Regions from separate parts of the Homo sapiens genome. Here region 2 is linked to region 1. The links are contacts of gene promoters, found by promoter capture Hi-C in human tissues and cell types (Jung and others, 2019). All regions are on one chromosome and are shown on one strand. Each heading gives the region's core, a stretch centred on a gene start or on the middle of the fragment in contact. The rest is flanking DNA. Distances are from core to core; before and after follow the strand shown. Region 1 holds the start of RARRES2 (retinoic acid receptor responder 2). Region 2 has its middle 15 kb from the start of ATP6V0E2.

Evidence for each region. The method cuts DNA at HindIII sites, captures the fragments that hold promoters and counts their contacts. A contact is called where the count stands out against the background at its distance.
Region 2: a contact is called between a fragment that was not itself captured here and the fragment with the promoter of RARRES2 in region 1, in 1 of the 25 tissues and cell types used here (dorsolateral prefrontal cortex).

What each region holds. Positions count from the first base shown.
Region 1 is chr7:150,339,822-150,346,204 of GRCh38, forward strand. RARRES2 (retinoic acid receptor responder 2) reads right to left here and starts at 1,808. Exons shown (of 6, transcript NM_002889.4): 1 at 1,757-1,808; 2 at 615-808; 3 at 279-383. The coding sequence starts at 788. LOC107986858 (a long non-coding RNA gene) reads left to right here and starts at 2,024. Exons shown (of 3, transcript XR_001745420.3): 1 at 2,024-2,516; 2 at 3,707-3,820. RefSeq lists a silencer at 847-916. The HindIII fragment of the contact is 2,199 bases long and covers 1,055-3,253 here.
Region 2 is chr7:149,885,948-149,892,330 of GRCh38, forward strand. It overlaps a transcript of ACTR3C not described here. Among named protein-coding and RNA genes, the nearest start is that of ATP6V0E2, 15 kb to the left of the region's middle. The HindIII fragment of the contact is 4,672 bases long and covers 388-5,059 here.

The DNA.
Region 1 (6,383 bases), core at 558-3,057:
GTGAGCCCTGCTCTGATGAAGATAAGTCCAGGGGTAACCAAACCATCTTCCTGTCTGCCAGGCCCCAGCTCCCACCAGCCACTCTCACAACCTTGGGCTCAGGCTGAGCCACTCCACCTCTAAGGAGGCTCTTCGCAGTGGGGTCTCTAACCTCAGGGCTTCTTAATGGACCTCCCAATTCATGCATGCACACCCAGGCATGTGCCCCACACCCCAAACCCCAAGTCCATGCACTCACACCCAGCATGCGCCCATTGCTCTCACACCCCTTCACTCACCCCATTGGGCCTGACTTTGCACTCGGGTTTCTTCCAGTCCCTCTTCCGGCAGCTTGTCTGCTGCAGCTTAAATTCCAGCCTCACAAATATTCCAGCTGGGAAGGGCTGCGGACAGACAGGCAGGCAGAGGATGGCCGGTAGCCAGCTGAGGGTGCAGAGCAAGCCCTGGTGTGATCCGCACCTCCCTCACGCAGTCACATTCCAGCAGGCTGGACAGTGGCCTTTTCTCCAAAGGGCTGGGGCTCAGAGCCCAAGCACTTCTGTCCCCCTTCGTGGGAATGCGCTGGTCTCCTGGGGTACGACCCTCCCCGCTCCTGCCCGGGCCATGCTACTCACCGTGTCCACGGCGCTCTCCACACTGGTCTCCTGGAAGGCCCACTGCACGGGCGGGTGCTTGTGAAATTCCTCCAGGGCCACCTGCAGGCCCCGGCGCTGGGCTTCCGTGAGCTCGGCGACGCCCACGCCCACCGCACCCAGCCACAGGGCCAGAGGGATCAGCAGCCGTCGCATGCTTCCGTGTCACCCTGGCCCTGCGAAGCGGGTGTGCGCCCCTCAGCTCTCCGAGCCAGCCCGAGCCGCCTCCTCCCGCGCCCTGCTCTGGGGGGAGGGTGGGGAGCGGGGGCGGGGTCCAGGCCTGTAGAACGCTGGGCACAGGTGAAGGAGCCTGGAAATGGCCCTTTCTCCAAATTGACCTTAGGGTCCGCCTGGCCCTCTCCGTTCCCTCCCACCCTGCCCGCGCTGTTCCCTGGGGCCTGCAGTTTTAGCAAAGTTCCCTGCCCACGCTAGGAATCAGTCAGTTCGCACTCCCACCCTACACCCCTAATCTTGCCCATTGTGTCTCTCCCTGGGTCTCCGGCACGACCCACTCTCCTCCCTGCCGTCCCCGGAGCCCCTCTCTCCTTTCCCCGCTCAGCCTTCTCCCCAACCGCTACTCCCTCCCCGTCCAGAATCCCCCTGCTCCCACGGGGTTCCCCCCACGTCCCCGAGGTCCAGGCCAGCCGGGGGAAGGGGCAGGGGCCGGAGGCCGAATACTTTTGGGAGGACCTAAACACGTGGGAGGGTCCGGACGGGTGGGAGCGGCGGGAGGCCTAATCCTCCCGGCGCGGGGGCTGCCGCGGGCCACCAGCCAGCCCCAGTCGCTAGGAATGGGGGTCTCGCGCCGCCCAGCCCTTGGCTTTCCCGCTTCAGGCAAAATCTTCCCTCCTTCCTCTTTTTTCTGGGGCCTTCCCCACGACCCCTCTTCCTAGCCCTTCTGATCCGTCCCCTGATGCATGACTGGGGCCACCGGAGGGGCTGACCCTCCCGGAGAGCCCCGTCGGTCCTGGTGGTCTTGGGACCGGAGAGCGACAGATGTGGAAACCGAGGCCCCTCAGTGAAGAGCTGCCAGGGTGGTCGCCTTAGAGCAAAGGCGTTCCTCATTCCGCCTGCGCAGCTGCCCCTCCGCCCGGCTGCCGCCCCAGCCCGCTTCCCCTCCTCACGTCCTTCCCTGCGCCTGGAGGTCTCCCCTGACCGTCCCGCAGCTGAAATCTTGGCCTCGCTGTCCGCCTCTTCCCGCTCTTCTTCTCGCGGGGCGGCCCCCACCTCCTCCCACCCCCACCTCCTGGACCCCCTCCAGCAACTCTGGCTCCTCCCCTCCCCAGTGGGACCGGCCTCTGGGGCGGGATGCCCTCCCGCGCCCTCCCTCCCCATCCCACCCCCCTCCTTCCCCTCGATCCAGCCCTCATGACCCTGACCCTGGCCGCGGCTGCAGGCGGCTCGCCCAGGCGCGCAGCCCTCGGTCCCACCTCCCTCTGGCTCGGGCCTGAGCATTCCGCAGCCTCGGCCGGCCCGGGCCTCTTCTCCGCTGCTCTGCTCCCCCAAGGACTTTCTGTGCCCCACTCCTACCCAGGCAGGGCTGCCCTGTCTTGGGTCCTTTACGGGGGACCATTCCCCAGCGTCCCTGAGACACTCATCCTGGGATTTCTTCCCCTAAATACAGACATTCTCAAACCAAATGAGACCTCGAGGTCCCTACACCTGATCCTGCCTCCCACTCCCTGAGCCACACTGAGAAGGAAGGTCTCTCCTTTAGGGAGGACTCTGGCGCCTGCAACCTTGATCGACAGCAAAGATGTCCAGTGTGTATCCTGCATCTGCCTTTCCTGACCATTCCTCGTGCCCCATTCTCCGTGGGATAGATTCTCATGGGGAGTGGGGGAGCCTTCGGGTGTGGCAGAACGGCATGATGGAATTCATAAGGTGAGCAGAAACTCAAGGAAAACTGTCCAAATACCGGCTCGACTCCTGGGTACGCTGGAGCAAGGATGAAGAAGCTCTGAGACTTTGCACGTCAGTAACCACCAACACCATGCCTCTGGTTCCCACACCGCAGGGATCACCTGAAGTAGAGGATCTCATGTAACTTCATGGCTCTCTCTGAACTTCTGTTTCTTTATCTGTAAGATGGGGATCAGAAACTCTGTCTTAAGGAGTTGTTTTGAGGATTAAATGAAGAAACATGAAAAGCAACTGATGTCCAGTGCCGAGCACAAGGCTTTTGTCCCCTACTTACGCACCCCTAACCAGGATTCTCCACTTAGAGCTGAGAATTTCCTTTACAGTGTGCTCTGGGGGCACCAGAAAGAAACTCGGCTTCCATTAACCACTTCCAGGTGTCTGAAATCCCACCACTACTTAGGGTACTTCACTCCCCAGCTGTGAGCTACTCAGCCGCCCTTAAGCAGAAAGAGATGGGATCCGTGTTCCCTGAAAGCTTTAGATGGGGTTAGAGAGAAAAGATGCACCCAAAGATGTTTCCCAGCCCAAGAACTTGAAGGAAACCAAAATATTTCACCCCAAAAAATACTTCTTTGACACATTTCAAGGTGGCTGTTCAGAATGGTTGGAAATAGAATAACCAAAAAGCTGTCTTTTTGTGGAGAGATTTGCATCTGTAGAGGAAATCTGCATTGATGTAGCCAGGCTTTCTCCGAGGCTCTCCCTTGTCTAACTCTAGGAAAGATTAACTGAGAGGCTGACACCTTTACAGATCTGAAAGAAACATTTACCCTCAGTTCTTTCTGAGGGCTGCTACCTGTGAGGTGTCATCTACCTAACAAGACTCCCTTTGCCAACCAGGCCTCCTCTTCCCTCCCTTCCATAACCTGTCTTGCCACTATCTGAGCCCCCATATTTGTATAAACTCAAGATGGTGGATAAGCTTCTGTATCCCACTGAGGGGTTGGGGTAATCACTTTGTGGTTCTCTCTCATGTATGTTAATAAATATTTCCTGTTAAAGCCGAGGCAGGAGGATTGCTTGAGCCCAGGAGTTCAAAGGTGCAGTGAGCTCTGATCATGAAACTGTACTTCAGCCTCTCTGGACAGAGCAAGACCTTGTCTCTAAAATATAAATGAATCAATTTATTCTATTAATCTGCCTTTCATCAGTTGATTTTTCAGCAAACCTTCAGAAGGCAAAGGGGAAGTTTTCCTTTGGCCCCCACAGACCCATGCTGGGGGACGTCCTGAGGATGGGTGAGGAGAGAAATCTTCCAGGACAAGGTAGGACTTGAGCTGAGCAAAGCGGGAAACTCATCCTGACTTTGGTGGGGGCTGGGGGGAAAGTTGCATCAGGTCTGTTGCAGGGGAGGTGAGGCAGTTGAGGTGGGGAGGTAGGTTGGGAGCAGGGTGGTGGGAGTTGGTGAGGAAGGAGCCAGTCTGGCTATACTTAAATGGCCACACAAAATTCACTTTGGGTGTAGGTATGTGAGGTGCACCCCAAAGAGGTGGACAGTCCTACTGCAGAGCACTCATAGGTGTGGATGTGTGAAAGGACTACTTAGGGCATATTCATGAGCTCAGCTCCAGGTAACATGTCCCAGTCCAGGGGAGCAACAACAGGACTTCACTATTTAATGATGGTTAATGATCTTCCTGGTCATGACAGCTAAAAAAGTAGACTCACGTATCCAGTTGTTCCAAGCTTAGTTTTCCAATAACTGAACTGAGTACCAAAAAACATTGTCCTTTAATATTTGCAACCACATTGACAAAAATAGTTTTTTTTAGAAGAAGTGATTTGACTTTGAAGTAAGAGCATATCAGTTGCAAAACTACACCTATTGAAGTTAAGTACATTTTCCAACTTGTGTCAATTCGGTACCATTAGCATAAATTCAAAAATGATATTGCATAAATTCAAAAGCCATTCTAAATTTATCAATATCAACTAAGAATTCTTCACATTTTTCTTGAAATTTTGCCAATTTACACAATGCTGTATATTACAATTAAAACCTCTGTATGTTGATTCTTGTGACAAAAGTATGTAGATTGTAATTATTTGTCAGTATTATGAAAATATTTAATTTGAAATGCTTATATTTATCTGGCTAGGTCACAAATGAGGTTTCATCTCCTTGGATATTCAAATTTAGCCCATTTATATGTAGTGTGGTATTGGTGAGAAAACACTGACTTTTTTATTTTTAATTATTGAATATTTGGGTTGAGAGTAGTGACTCATGCCTGTAATCCTAGCACTTTGGGAGTCCAAGGTGGGTGGATCACTGAACCCAGGAGTTCAAGACCAGCCTGGGCAATATAGAGAGAGGCTATCTTTACAAAAAAAAAAAAGTTTAATTAGCTGAGTGTGGTGGCAAAAGTCTGTAGTCCTGGCTACTCAGGAGGCTGGCGGGGGACGATCACTTGAGCCTGGGAAGTCAAGGTTGCAGTGAGCTATGATCATGCCACTACATGACCCTCCCACCTCAGCCTCCCAAAGTGTTGGGATTATAGGCTCAAGCCACCACTCTCAGACTTGGCCACAGAGCAAAACCTTGTCCCCAAAACAAATAATAATAATACTTATTGTTGTATATTTGGTAATCATGGCTTCTGTCTCAAGAAAATCTTGGAGTTAGTTAAAAGTACAGTAAATCTTAGGAGAACTCTTCTACAACCCTGACAATGAGCTTTGGTAAAGAAAAGATCATTAAATTCATTATCTTTCATTGCTTTCAACAGTTCCATAAAACCAGCAGTGATTCATAGCATTTCCACTTAAATACGGAATTAGTTTTAATGGCTGTAGCCATGAGACTTGCATAGAATAAATTTCAGAAAACTGAGCACAAATATCTTCAATATGTACCCTAAAGTGAAATGAAGCAACATTGGAAGCATCAATCTCTTGTTTTAGCATTCCAATAAATACCTCAGTCACACCAGCCACATGGCAAGTGTTCCTAAACCTGTGGCTGGTGGCTACCATATTGGATATTGCAGGCAGAGCATGTGTTACCAATTATGTGAGTAAAAACTAAAACTAAAAATGAACAAATTTTTGTGTTTGTAAATGCATGGAATATTTCTAGAAGGGAAAAACAAGAAACTTATAACAGTGTTTGCCTGTGAGGAGAGGATCTGTCCAGCTGGGGAAAACAGAGGCAGGAAAACTGTACTCCCTTTGTACTTTTAAATTTTTATAACTTGTGGATAATTTGTCTATTAAAATATAAAAAAACTTTAAAAACTATTTTTTGAGACAGGGTCTTGCTCTGTCGTTCAAGCTGGAGAGCAGTGGCTCAATCATGGCTCACTGCAGCCTCAACCTCCTGTGCTCAAGCGATCCTCCCACCTCAGCCTCCCAAGTAGCTTGGACCACAGGTGCATGCCATCATCCTAGGCTAATTTTTGTATTTTTTTCTAGAGACAGGATTTTGTCACATTGCCCAGGCTGATCTCAAACTTCTAGGTTCAGCAATCCACCCACCTTGGACTCTCAAAGTGCTGAAATTACAGGCTTGAGCCACTGTGCTTGGCCTTAATACTTTTAAAATCAGAAAGCAAAGCAACAGCTTTTCTTTTGTCTTCTTTTCTTTTCTCTTTTTTTGAGACAAAGTCTTATTCTGTTGCCCAGGCTGGAGTGCAATGGCATAATCAGAGCTCACTGCAGCCTCCATGTTCTAGGCTCTATTGATCTTCCTGCCTCAGCCTCCCAGTAGCTAGAACTACAGGACCACCTCACCCAGCTAGTTTTTATTATTATTATTTTTTTTTTCAGGAGAGAGGAGGTTTTGTTTTGTTGCCCAGGCTGGTCTTGAACTTCTGAGCTCAAGTGATC
Region 2 (6,383 bases), core at 1,474-3,973, 450 kb before region 1:
CTGATGATGATTAGTTGAGTGAAAGTGACTTAATCTTTCTGAGCTTCATTTTTATTGATGAATCAGGATAATATTAGTAGCACCTGCCTCATAGAAGTTGTGCATATGAACTGAGATAATGGACTAAAGTGCTCAACTGGTCGATAAATGCTATTAATTTCATTATATTTACATATTAACTATTTAATTCCATGCCACATTTTATTCTGCCAGGATCTCAGCTTCCTTCCCCTTTTCTGTTCCTGTCATGGTCACCACACTGATGCACTTTGCGGAAGAGAAGGTGGCAAGTGCCCTGTGTGCTTTTATATGTGAGACAGGACCTGACAAATAAGTACTATGAAAAATACCTGGGGCCTGCTTATGTATCTGCATTTTTGTGTTTCCTGTCGAATGTCTTTAATGTATAAATGTAGCATCTTCTCAGTAAAAACACAAATGCTTTTGGAGGACGGGGGGAGGAAGCAGATACTAGAATTGGCATGCTGTTTCTAAAGCCCTCTGGGAAAAACAAACATGTAAGAAATAACCAAGATATTCCTGGAAAAGCAGAGTATTGAGAGGGACACTGGCACTCCAGATACTAAAAAGTCTAAGATAAAGATACCATTTGCAAGGCTACAGAAATGCAAACAGTGGGGCTGGCACATGAACACACAGACGACTCAAGGGGAGAAAATAAGTCCAGAAATAAATTTACAATCAGGAATTAAGAATATGATAAACAGCCAGACACAGTTTCTCACACCTGTAATCCTAGCATTTTGGGAAGCCAAGGCGGGCGGATCCCTTGAGCCCAGGAGTTCGAGACCAGGCTGGGCGTCATAGTGAAACCCTGTCTCCACTAAAAATACAAAAAGTAGTCGAGTGTGTGTAGAGGTGTGAGCCTGTAGTCCCAGCTACTCAGGAAGGCGAGGTAGGGGAAATACTTGAGCCCAGGAGGTTGAGGCTACAGTGAGCAGAGATTGTGCTCCTGCATTCTGGCCTGGGCGACAGAGCGAGACTGACTCAAAAAAAAAAAAAAAATGAATATGATAAACATAGCAAACCAAATACATAAGGAAGAGATGAGTAGGGCAATGAACAGTGTCCAGAGTCCCAGCAGCAAAACACATACAAAATGGAAAGAAACTATAAATGTACTAGAAAAAAATTGGAGAATTTTTAAAATTATCATGTAATAGGGAAGGTCTATCTCAGGGGAAGAAAGAAAAAAAGAAATCCAGAGGCTATGAAGATAAAACTTTATACATTTAACTAAGTTAAAATTTACATTTTCTTCAAGGCAAAAACCATACAAGTAGATAAATGAGCAAATGACACAAAAGAATTCACAGAAGAAGACATGTAAAAGACTTTTGAGCATGAAGAGATGCTTAGTCAAGGAAAGCAAATTCAAACAGCAATGTAACCTCCTTATTACCTTATTAACCTGCTTATTACAGAGAGCGAGACTGTGATAACAGACTGTAGGTCTGTGCTGCCTGCTGCAGTGCATCTCCCCATGCTCTTGGTGCTCCCATACACGCCAGGCGCCTTCCAGGTGCCAGCACTGGCTTCCTTCCTGGGCAGCAGGCTGGACGTACCATCAGGAGTTGGTATATAAACTGGCTCCCAGAGCTGCCCATAGTGTCGCTGGCTTGCACATGTCCTGGATGGCCTACTGGGCCCAGAAAAGGTGAAATGTGAGGAGCACACTAATCACAAAATGACCCGAGCCAAGTCGAGCCAATCCTGGGCTAGACTGGCCAAACCCCATGATATGATTTGGCTGTGCCCCCACCCAAATCTCAACTTGAATTGTATCTCCCAGAATTCCCCTGTGTTGTGGGAGGGACCAGGGGAGGTAATTGAATCATGGGGGCTGGTCTTTCCCATGCTATTCTTGTGATAGTGAATACGTCTCAAGAGATCTGTTGGATTTATCAGGGATTTCTGCTTTTGCTTCTTCATTTTTCTCTTGCCGCTGCCATGTAAGAAGTGCCTTTTGCCTCCTGCCATGATTCTGAGACCTCCTCAACCTTGTGGAACTGTAAGACCAATTAAATCTTTTTTTTTCCCCCCAGTTTCAGGTGTGTCTTTATCACCAGTGTGAAAACAGACTAATACAGGCCAGCTGATGCAGACATACTAGCCAAAATTAAATGCCTGTTGTTATAAGTCAGTTTTAGGGTGTTTTGTCATGCAGCATTATTGCGGCACACCTGACTGATACAATACTGTTACATACAGATCTAGTTCATTAGTGACATACACTTTCTTTGTCCACCCCCCTATTAATGACCCCTGTGTTACTTCCAGATTAACAAATAGTAAGCATCTTTTATATGTCTTTGTGCACATTTGCTGGAACTTCTCTAGGATATATATCTAGGAGTCAAAGAGCTTTTAATATTACAAGAGATTGCCAAATTTCTCTCCAAAATGATTGTTTCAATTTACACTCAACCAACCTTGTGGCATGAGCCACAGCACCTGGATGGTAGTTGGTTTTAACTTGCATTTCCCTAATAGCTGCTAAGCTTGACTCTTCACCTGTTTATTGGACATTTCGGTTTCCACTTCTCTAATTTGCCTACTCAAATCATTGGCTTGCTTTTCTATGACTTTTTTTGGTCTTTTCCCTATTGATTTATAGAAGTTCTTTATATATTCTTGGCTACAAGTTCCCCTAATCCTAGTGAATCTAGTGCCAGGAACAGGGAAGGAAGGAGGAAGTGGGGAGAGAGGGCAAGATCAGACAGCCTCATTTCTCCTTCTGCTCTTCAAAACCATTGTTGCTGGGCGTGGTGGCTCACACCTGTAATCCCAGCACTTTGGGAGGCCAAGGCGGGTGGATCACCTGAGGTCAGGAGTTCGAGAACAGTCTGGCCAACGTGGTGAAACCCCGTCTCTACTAAAAATACAAAAAGTAGCCGGACGTGGTGGTGAGCGCCTGTAATCCCAGCTACTTGGGAGGCTGAGGCAGGAGAATCGCTTGAACCTGGGAGGCGGAGGTTGCAGTGAGCTGAGATCACGCCACTGCACTCCAGCCTGGGCGACAAGAGTGAAACTCCACCTGAAAAAAAAATAAAAAATAATAAAAAGAAATTAAAAAAAAACCATTGTTAAAAAAATGAAAAGCAAACCACAAACTGGAAGAAACTATTTGTAAAGCATATATCTGTCAAGACTTGTATCTTGAATATATAAAGAACTCATACTTAAACAACATGACAAACCTAAGTTTTAAAAGTGGGCAAATTTGAACTCTTACTTCACAAAAGAAGAACTGCAGCCCTACCTTAGATCATGCACAGAAACAAATTTCAGGAAGGTCAAAGACCTAACCCCAAAGAGCAAAATGTCAAAGTGTTTAAAGTAAATCATAAGAAAATGACTTCCTGACATCAGAAAAGGGAAAAATTTTCTAAATCAGGCTGGGAAAAGATCGCTGTGGTACATATTTATGAAAGATTGGCATCCAGATTATATAAACAACACTGACAAATTAATCTAAAAAATACAGTTGAAAAATTGGCATGTATATTCCCAGCAACTCACAAGGAGGGAAACTTGAGAGGCCAGTCAGTAGGTGAAAAATATACTTAGCCCCATTAGTAATCAGGGAAATGTACATTAAAGTCACAATGAGACATTTCATACTCATCAGATGGGCAAGTTATGTCTGCCAGCACAAAAGGCTGGAGAGGATGGGGGAAATGTAAGTAGGGGTGCAAATGGAGGCAACCCCACCCCATCTCCACAAAAAATTTTTAAAAATTAGCCAGGCTAGTGGCTTCTACCTGTGGTCCGAGCTACTCAGGAGGTTGAAGCGGGAGGATCAACTGAGTCCAGAGTCCGAGGCTGCAGTGAGCTAGGATTGTGCCACAGAACTCTAACCTGGACAACAGAGCAAGATCCCATTTCTAGAAAAATAAAATACAGAGCAAAACAGTAAAATAAAATAAACCACTGTGGATGTACAGAGAAAACAGAGTGGCCTGTGAAACGCAGTGGCCATACTTGGCAATTTCAGCTGTGAAGACACAGCCAGGGAAAAAAAATCAAAGACTGGCTTTAATATACATTAAATACATATATTCGTTATAGAGTTATTCCATATTTAATAGTTATTCCAATAACTATTAGCCTTATAGTTCAAATATTTCTTATACCAGATAATTCTTAAAAACACTTCATATCCTAACATCAGAAAGAATTTTATAATTGGATCTGGGACCATTTGACAATGTACTTGCATGAAAAAAAATCCAAACCTAAATTATGCAGGTTTAATACGCAGCTTACGTCACATGAAACTGCCCTCTATAAAGCAAGCATTCTGTACATATAATTAATTTTAACTTGATGAAAAGAGCATCTCACGGAAGAAAACATGTAATGTTGAGTAGAACCACTAGAGAACGAGGAGATATTTCTTCTCATTTATCTGTGATGTTTCATTTCATTTGAATGAAATCAGTTAAGTATATAATTAGGGCCCATAACTCAGTTCAGTTTTATTTTACAGTAACATTTAAACCCTAGAAAAAAACAACATCTTGACCTGGTTTCCTCTGCTATAAGTGGCAATAATTACAATCATCTTGCTATGTCTCAAGAAAACTAAAGTAGGCAGTTGGTTTATCCAAATCCATTCCTCCTTCTATTGTCCTTGCTTTTGGAGGCCTGTTTAGCTACTTACCCTCCTCCAGGGTCCAGAACATCAGACAAGTTCTCCTGGTCCCCACACCAAGGAGAAAGTCTTCAAGAATCTAAACCAGTCACAGTAAATCCATTCCTATTGCTCTAACCAGGTTAGGCATAGGCAGATGGGGCAAATGTGCTGGGAAGGTTTCTGGGAAAGGGTCTCTAAATTCTTAAAAAGTGCAAGGGAAATCTTCTATCTCTGTATAGAAATGTCCAAAGAGGTGATCTAGGAATTTGGCAGCCACCCTGGACCCAGGGGGAACAAACAGAAGAGCTCCAGCTAGTGCCCTAGGCTGCATGTGCAATTCCATCACTGAGCTGCTAAAACAACAGCCCTAGAGCTGCCTCACTTGGGCTTCCTGTTTGGTGAGCTAACAAGCCCCTTTTTGTTCTGAACGTTTTTATTGAGCTTTATTTTCAAAAAAGCAGCCTGATTCATGCACATATCTTTAGAAGAAATTTAAAACGCCCTAGAAAAGAATATCTTCAGTTTAAAATCTAAGCAATTTGGAATTTACAGGAATATATTCCTCTTAGTTCCAGTTACTCACCATTAAAAAATAATGGTCCTCAGGTTCAGCTCGAAGATATTTAAAAACCACTTGCTCCATGAACCTTTCCATAAGATCCCAGTCTTCAATGATTCCATGTCGTATCGGCCACTGGAGGAAGAGACACCAGAGTTGTCAAGCCTCAGTTCGCAACAATAAGAGCAACAGTTTAACAGTGGCACAGAAGAAACTGTATTATTAAGAATAAAGGTCTCCTTCTCATTGCAGTTGTTGTTAATTCTTGTAAAGAAACAACAGCATTTGGAAAAAAAAGATTAAGTTACATTATTGTTCATATTCTCCTCCACTCATTTCCACAAACAAAGAATCACCTTAACAATGACACGGAGGCAGGCCAGGCACAGTGGCTCACGCCTCTAATCCAACGCTTTGGGAGGCCAAGGCAGGAGGCTCACCCGAGCCCAGGAGTTCGAGACCAGCCTGGGCAACATAGCAAGACACTGTCTCTACAAAAAATTAAAAAATCAGCCAGGCATGGTGGTGCGTGCCTGTAGTCCCACCTACTTGGGAAGTTGAGGTGAGAGGATTGCTTGAGCTCAGGAGGTCGAGGCTGCAGTGAGCCAAGACGGCATCACAGCACTCCAGCCTGGATGACAGAGTAAGACCTATCTCTAAAAAAACAACAAAAAATACAATGAGGAACCGATAGAAAACTGCAGCTAATTATCATACAATTGGATCTGGAGCTTTAAAAAAAAAAAAGTCTGCTTAAATAACGTTAGTGTTTCTTTTTAATTAACCAATCTGCAATTTTCCCTCATCTGACAGGTTAGTCAACCTGTCAACAATTTTCCAGGGGAGGGGATCTTGCTTTCATGTGTGACCTGGTGTTTCCTGAGTCTATTCTGCATTCCAGGGATCTGTTAATTCCCTTAATTCTCCAATCAAAAATACCCCCATTCAAAACCAACCATCACCACCACCTCTATTCAAACATAAGAATTCAAACATAAGAATAGAAACACATTCTACAACTCGCAAATACAACTTCTAGATGACCATTTTGCATTACTCATCCTACTGCTCTACACTTAGAGAAGCAGACACCTGTCGGAAATTTACCTTTGTAGCATATGTAGGTTTATCGATGGCTTCATCTCCTATGAAAAAGTCAAGGTC